Linked DNA regions of Homo sapiens: region 1 is linked to region 2. The links are contacts of gene promoters, found by promoter capture Hi-C in blood cells and fetal thymus (Javierre and others, 2016). All regions are on one chromosome and are shown on one strand. The core of a region is centred on a gene start or on the middle of the fragment in contact, and the rest is flanking DNA. Distances in the headings are between cores, read along the strand shown.

The links. Contacts are between HindIII fragments. The CHiCAGO score rates a contact against its expected background, and 5 or more counts as called.
Region 1: the fragment with the promoter of ZNF202 here is called in contact with the fragment with the promoter of PUS3 in region 2 in 1 of 17 cell types (naive CD4 T cells); the score reaches 6.4 in naive CD4 T cells.

What each region holds. Positions count from the first base shown.
Region 1 is chr11:123,740,261-123,743,913 of GRCh38, forward strand. ZNF202 (zinc finger protein 202) reads right to left here and starts at 1,400. Exons shown (of 9, transcript NM_003455.4): 1 at 1,289-1,400; 2 at 157-276. RefSeq lists enhancers at 786-995, 1,985-2,582 and silencers at 1,176-1,305, 1,346-1,395. The HindIII fragment of the contact is 6,844 bases long and covers 1-3,653 here.
Region 2 is chr11:125,901,080-125,904,537 of GRCh38, forward strand. It overlaps PUS3 (pseudouridine synthase 3), which reads right to left and starts at 2,127. Exons shown (of 4, transcript NM_031307.4): 1 at 2,091-2,127. DDX25 (DEAD-box helicase 25) reads left to right here and starts at 3,429. Exons shown (of 12, transcript NM_013264.5): 1 at 3,429-3,458. The coding sequence starts at 3,439. The HindIII fragment of the contact is 3,679 bases long and covers 1-2,839 here.

The DNA of each region.
Region 1 (3,653 bases), core at 150-2,649, 2.2 Mb before region 2:
ATCCCAGGCGTTTGGTCCTAGGAGGAAAAATTCCTGTCCTCTCTCCAACCCTGCCCACCCTCTTATGCTAGATAGTAACAGCAGAAAGTTATCCCAGACTGCTCCGCGTTCACACGCTTCCCACCAACAAACCTCCTCCCAAGGCTATCCCACAACCTTTCTGAAGTAGCTTCCTGGATCAAGCCCCACGGGGCAGCTTGGAAGAGAAGCTGGGAGGGATGAGGGGCTCCACTAGCATTCCTTGTGGCTTCTGAGTGTAGCTGCCCTGGGTGTCACCTGCAGAGCGTGGATAGAGAAAAAGCAACAGTTCTAAGCCCAGCCTCTAATTGAGAGCCTGGGATCTAGCGCTGCTCCCCAGGACCAAGGTTGTTCAAGAAAGGCTGGGTCTAAGAGTCTCCCTCTGGGGAGGTCAGTACAGATTCCAAGGCAGACAGGGTTATCAAAGCGCCTAGAAGATGAGAACATTCATTGTTCAGAAAAACAAAAATTAGACTGACACCTTTCTGAAGGAACACAGCCTATCCATGGCACAAAAACAAATTTTTAATCAAGACACTCAAGAAGTAGGTATACTCCTGCTAAAAGTAACGCAGGTGCTGAGAAGAGGTGCCAAAACTGGCTGTTAGGAGTGGGAGGAGAGGAAAGTTGCAAGTGGAGACAGCAGCTACTGGCTTGAGGGGACCTCAGGGTCTGTCACAGTGGCAGCTGAAAAGCCTCTGGCCAAATGGACGCCAAGGACTACTATCATCACAGGTGACAAGATCACGGGTGAGTGTATCTGGGTGTGTGCTGGGGGGCTGAGGGGGGCTTGGTGGTGTAAGGAGATGGGGCTAGCCGGGGCAAGGAGCCCGCGGAGATGATCTTAAGCAATCTGAGAGGAGGGGTAAGAAAAAGCTGCGGAAAATAAAGGGGCCTAGACCACTCCTCCCTCGGTTCCGGGGGGACAGTTGGCGCGGAAGCGTTAGGAGGTACGAGGTACGGACTAACTACATTTCTGCAGGCCCCAGGAGGGGGCGGAGGGCGGTGGCTGGAAAGGAAAGGAAGCCGGGAGCGCCATCCGTGTCCCCGGAGATACTGGCTCCGGCCACCAGGAAACACAGAGACCACAACGTCTCGGCACCCTCAGTACACCGCCGCCACCCCTTCCCCAGGACACGGCGATTTCCCCAGACTCTGGGGGGCGGGGTCTCCGGTCCCTCCCCCTCCTCCCCGCCCTGCCCGGCTCTGCCCGATCTGGTCCGGCCCGGTCCAGCCCGGCCCGGCCCAGCCCAGCCCACTCAGGACTCACGGCTCCGACAGCTCCGGCGGCTCCTCCCCTGCCCCGGCTTCTCTCCCACCCACTCCCGACCGAAACAGCGCCGCCGGATCCGAGCCGCGCGGGGCCTAGCGGGTCGGAACACGTGGGGCCTTTGCGCCCGGAACCGGAAGCGATCGCTCGCCCCGCCTTCTCGCCGAGTAGGAGCCTTTCTAGGCTGTGGGAGGTTTGATCCTCTCTATGCGCCCTCCGCGGGTTGCGGCTCAGTGCTCCCCAAGGACCCAGTGCGAAGAAGCCTCGGACCCCACAGCTGCCGTCCGCGACCCCTAACTCCACTCTGCAGCGAATAAATTAACATCTTGGGCCTTTCATTTACAGGCATACCTTCTGCAAGGGTTTTCTTTTTCTTTTCTTTTTTCTTTTCTGTTTTTGATCTTTTGTGTGTTTGTTTTCATTTGGATACCTCTACGTGTTTTTCTTGATTTTTTTTTCTTTGCATTGTCCGCTGCAACATGGTAGAAAAGGGCAGCGTTAGGTTTGAATACTGGCTCTTGCAGTCACCATCAGCAGCAGGGCCTCGGCCGAATCTCTCCATCTTTGAACCCTATTGTGCATCATATAAAACGGGCATAATAATACCGTTACTCTGAGGACTAAATGATACATTGCACATGAACTGAATGGAACATCAGAAGCTCAGAAAGAAAATAGTTATGGTATCACTGTTCTTTCTTTTCCTTTGAGTGTTGCTTCGTATTTCTTTACTTTCAGGCTGTCTTCCCTGATCTCATTTGTTCATTTTTGTCCGTTCGGTGACCTTTCTGCCCATACTTGACATTTTCCTTTGCTCTCTGTCCCTTTTACCCTGTAAGTCACCACTCTCCACGTGCCATGTGCCACTTCCTTTTCATGGGACACATTGCTGGGATCTGTTTACTGGGTTTGAACCAAAGGATTAGTTACTTTTGGTGGAGTGGCAGTGTATTAGCGAAACAGAACTAATAGGTGTGAACCCAGAAGGCAGGACAACTCAAAGCGGGGAGGGGGCTTCCAGGTCATAGGTAGATAAGACACAAATGGTTGCATTGAGTTGCTGATTAGCCTCTCCGGAAGGAGGCAATCAGATATGCATTTATCTCAGTGAGCAGAGAGGTGACTTTGAATAGAAGGGGAGGCAGGTTTGCCCTAAGCAGTTCCCAGCATGAATTTTCCCTTTAGTGATTTTGGGGGCCCCAAATCACTTTCCTTTCACACGGGGTATGTATAAACATATAAAAGGAGATTTATTATAAGGAGTTGGCTTACATAATTATGGACGTTGAGAAGTCCCACCATCTGCTTACTGCAAGCTGGAGAAATAAGGAGGTTGGTGGTATAATTCAGTCTAAAGCTGAAGGCCTGAGAACTGGAAAGGGATTGAGGTGCTGGTGTCTGAAGGCCAGAGAGCAGGAGGAGATGATGTCCCAGCTCAAGAAGAGAGAGGTGAATTTACTTTTCCTCTGCCTTTTTATACTATTTGGGCCCTCAATGGATTGGATGGTGCCTACGCATAGTGGTGAGAGTGATTTTCTTTACTCAGTCTACTGATTCAAATGCTAATCTCTCTCTCTTTTTTTTTTTTTTTTTTTTTTTTGGACAGAGTCTTGCTCTGTCGCCCAGCGATCTCGGCTTACTGCAATGTCTGCCTCCTGGGTTCAAGCAATTCTCCTGCCTCAGCCTCCCGAATAGCTGGGATTACAGGCATGTGCCACCATGCCCAGCTATTTTTTTTTTGTGTGTGTGTATTTTTAGTAGAGAGGGGGTTTCACCATATTGGCCAGAAACACCCTCACAGACACACCGACTAATAATGTTTTCTGTTGTCTGGGCATCCCTTAGCTAGTCAAGTTGACACATAAAATTACCCAATACAAAGAGAAATATACATTTCATGAAAGCCTACTGTGTACCAAATATTTTTCTCTGTAAATCTCATTGAATATTTTAAAATATTGGTATTAAGTGCATAAATAATACATAAACATCTTCTTCTAAACATTTAATGCATTACAGTGTTAAAGGAAAAATTATTCAGTGATACTTGTTAGAGCATGGTAAGGGAGACCTTATTCAGGACCAGGAAAGGTAAAGAAACCACTGCAATGAAGTCTTGCTGTAGGGATGAGAGATTGGGCTGAACTCTGAATACAGAATGGGCAAGTGGGAATTTATAGTCAAGGAACTTTTTTTGGAGTTTGGGACGTCGATGGATTGAAAATTACTAAGGGGAAACATCAGGCTTAAGGCGGATTCTGGCTAAGTCAACCTAATAGGATTCTTGCTGAAGACAGGCCAGGTTGATCAGACATCACCTGGGGCGTGATGGAGGATGAGGACACTGACCAGGTATTAAGGATGG
Region 2 (3,458 bases), core at 877-3,376:
CAACATGGATAGCCTCATTACTAAAGGTGTACAACAAATCCAAGTAGCTTTAAAATACTTTCTAACAAATGCCCCAAAACAGTACCATATAACATACAGGATTCAAACTTGTTTTATTTCAGAATTATTTCATTAATATTTTGCCTGCCAGCTGTTATTTCTGGAATACCATTCTTTTTATAATTTGCCCCTGAGATTTTTGTAGGAATTATGCATCATTTGGAAGGGTATTCCTACTCCAGTAGAAATTCAAACTAGTAACATCTGGAATCAGATGCAAACATAAATACCAATATGAACCTAGCCTGTTTGGGTGCAGATCAAAATAGGAATTCTGCTCACCTTAAATTGTAATTTATCTGTTCTTGATATTTCTGACCCAACGGGGACCATCTAAAATCTGAAAGTTGTCAGTTTTAACACCAGAGGCCAGAAGAATGATAGTACAGTTTGCTTGTTCACAGAGAAAAAGTTCTAACATAAAGGTGAATGACCTTGACCGTTACTATCTGCGAAAATCATTTTCCCTGTAACATTTAAAGCCACATAATTCACACATTCACCCAGTTCTATTTGTTAGGCATTTGTCTGGAAAAGAAGTAATCAATGACTCAGGTACATGTAGGATATACTCACCGCAAAAAAGTAGAAACTGCAAACTGTCCACCAACAGTGGAATAGTAAATGTCTTTAAAGACATTAGAATATTAAATAGTCATTGGGAATCTTGGGAAAGTAATATGGGAAGGTGAAATTAAGTGACATGAATGTATCATAAACTATACAGGATGATCTCAGTACACACAGGGAAAGATCAAAACCTAACGAGTAGTGGGATTAAAGGTAATTTGTATTTATACCTCGACTTTTTATGAGGTCAAAAATTACATGGTGATTTTAACATGCAAAACACTCCAGTGATTATTTGGATCTCAAAGTCCAACATTACCAAAGTCTCCAAAGTTCAACTCCCGTGCTAACTAAAGAACTAGGCCAGGGAGTGAGTCTAGTTGGTCATAAGGCAGATTTGTGGCAAAAACAGGACTTGGTACACTACAGTGCTTTTTCCAGCACACCTTACCCTAATTCAGGGTGAAGTGCAGGAGTTCCCAAGCAGACGTTTAAAGTAACACCCTGGCCAGGGCTGCGAAGTAACCACAGAGAGGGAATTCGTGTGTCCCCTAAGCACCAATTACAAACTAAAACGGCCATCACCAGATGTTCCATACATTGGGCCAGGCGCCGTGGCTCACGCCTGTCATCCCAACATTTTGAGAGGCCAAGACGGGGTGGTGGCGGGGGGGAGGGGGGGTCGCTCGAAGTCAGGAGTTCGAGACCAACCTGGGCAACACAGCGAGACCGTGTGTTAATTAAAAAATTAAAAACTAGGCTGCCAAGATGGCGCACGCCTGCAGTCCCAGCTAGTTGGAGGCTGAGGTGGAAGGATCGCTTGAGCCCAGGAGGTAGAGGCTGCAGTGAGCAGTGATCACGCCACTTCACTCAGCCTGGGCGACAGTCTTAAAAAAAAAAAAAAAAAAGTCCTAATCTCAGGAACCAGTGGGTTAACACATAAATAGCATTCCTCTTGATAAACTTTATATTAATCCAAAGGGAAGAAGAGGGAGTACTGTCCAAAGGATTAGCAGACACGCACTATGATCACTAGAAAGCAATCGTGGTCTGTATGTAAGGCAATCCCCAAAATAATTTGAAAATTGCTGCCACAGCCTCCCACATACTCCTGGGTTCTCAACTTCTACTGTTTTATGAGCACCCAATTCTAAGTGGGGCAGCAGAGCACTTTTGTACTCCACAGTACAAGTACCACTGAAGCTCCCGTCACAACGGAATTAAAGACGACCCTACTGCGGCGAGTTTCCACCGAGAGCTCCAGAAAGTACCAGGCACAAAAGAAAAATACATGGTCTTAAGCGAGGTCTCATTTCCATACGGCAATGCTTTCCTGAAAAGACCAAAGTATGTGAAAGAGGGCAAAAAGAAGACAACAGACAACCGTTCAGCAGTGTGTCCATTTGTCCCTTCCCCTGTGGAACCCAGAAAGTAACCCACTCCAAAAATCCCACACTTACTTTCCGGCAGCCGGCCGCGCCGCGTTTCCGAGAAAGGAAGCTGTCACTGTGCGTCTTCTGCGCAGGCGCCCGAGCCCTCATGGGAGGTGTAGTCCAAGTTTGTGGGAAATGTAGTTCTGAGAACCGAGCTTGGTGCTAGAATCTACCTGAGGTTTTCTAGTCCAGCTACCGTTTCTCCGCCCACAGGGCAGAATCTGGGCCTGTGGCGGGACAGCAATAAAAGGAGGAATTGTAGTGCTACGCTAAAATAATAGAAAAAAGGTAATTTTTCAAATTCTGCTATCCTTATACGAAAACTAAAAGATTGAAGATCTTGGCTCGATTTTATACCTAGTTAAATGAGAAGAAAGTTACCATTGAGAGACAAAAACATTTACTATTAGAATTCAAATTAAAAGCTGAAATGAATATGATAATCTCAAAACAAACGACTAGGTGCCCTGAGAGTGACCGAACAGAGCGGGGAGCGTTGCTTCAGCACCACGGAGAGATCATGACTGCAGTTTCGTGTGGGTTTTTGTATTTTTGCCCCCAATTCCAGAAATGCTGATCAAAATCTCAAAATTACAATTAGAAAACTGGGGGGCGGGGGGGAGGTGGAATTTGGTTCTTTCGTCCAAATTGAGCGGTCATTAAATCATTAGTACCAGGGATCCAGGGATCTATACCGGATTATGCAAACGCATGTAGGACGTAGAGGTTATACCGAAAGGTAATGTTTTTAACAAGAGACCACATTTCAGAATAAAAGCTTTAAAAAGCCTATGTGGAACATCACAGGTATCTAGGGCAGGAACAGCAGTTAGAGCTTGAACAGTTCTGCTTCCTTTCCGCAACTGTGGCATTCGAGGTCATTCGTCATATCAAATTCATCAGATTTTGTCTCCACTTTGCTAACCAATTCGCTAACCTTTCTGACATCTTGTGATGTGGAGGCGGAAATTTCCAGGGAAACCGACACGGGGCGTAAAGCGCGGCGGGGAGTCCGGGGGGCTCCCGCCTGGAGGGCTGTGTGAGCGGCGGGCCGCGGGGCGGCGCGGGGGGCGCTCTCCACTCTGCGGAAGCTGCCCCCTCTGCCCTCCGGTCCGCGCCCTTTCGCCCCGCTCTCTGCCCTCCGCCCCGCTCTCTGCCCTCCGCCCCGCTCTCTGCCCCCCGCCCCGCTCTCTGCCCTCCGCCCCTTCCGCGCGCCACCCAGCCTTCCAGCGCCTGCGCGCCGCACCGCGGTGGTCGCGGGCGCGGACGCGGACGCCTGCCCCCTAAGGAAGCCCATTGGCCAGCGGATGGGGCCAGCACCGCCTCGCGCCGGTGGTGGAAGCACGTGCTGGGGGCGGGAGCAGCAATCGCAGCCATGGCGTCGTTACTGTGGGG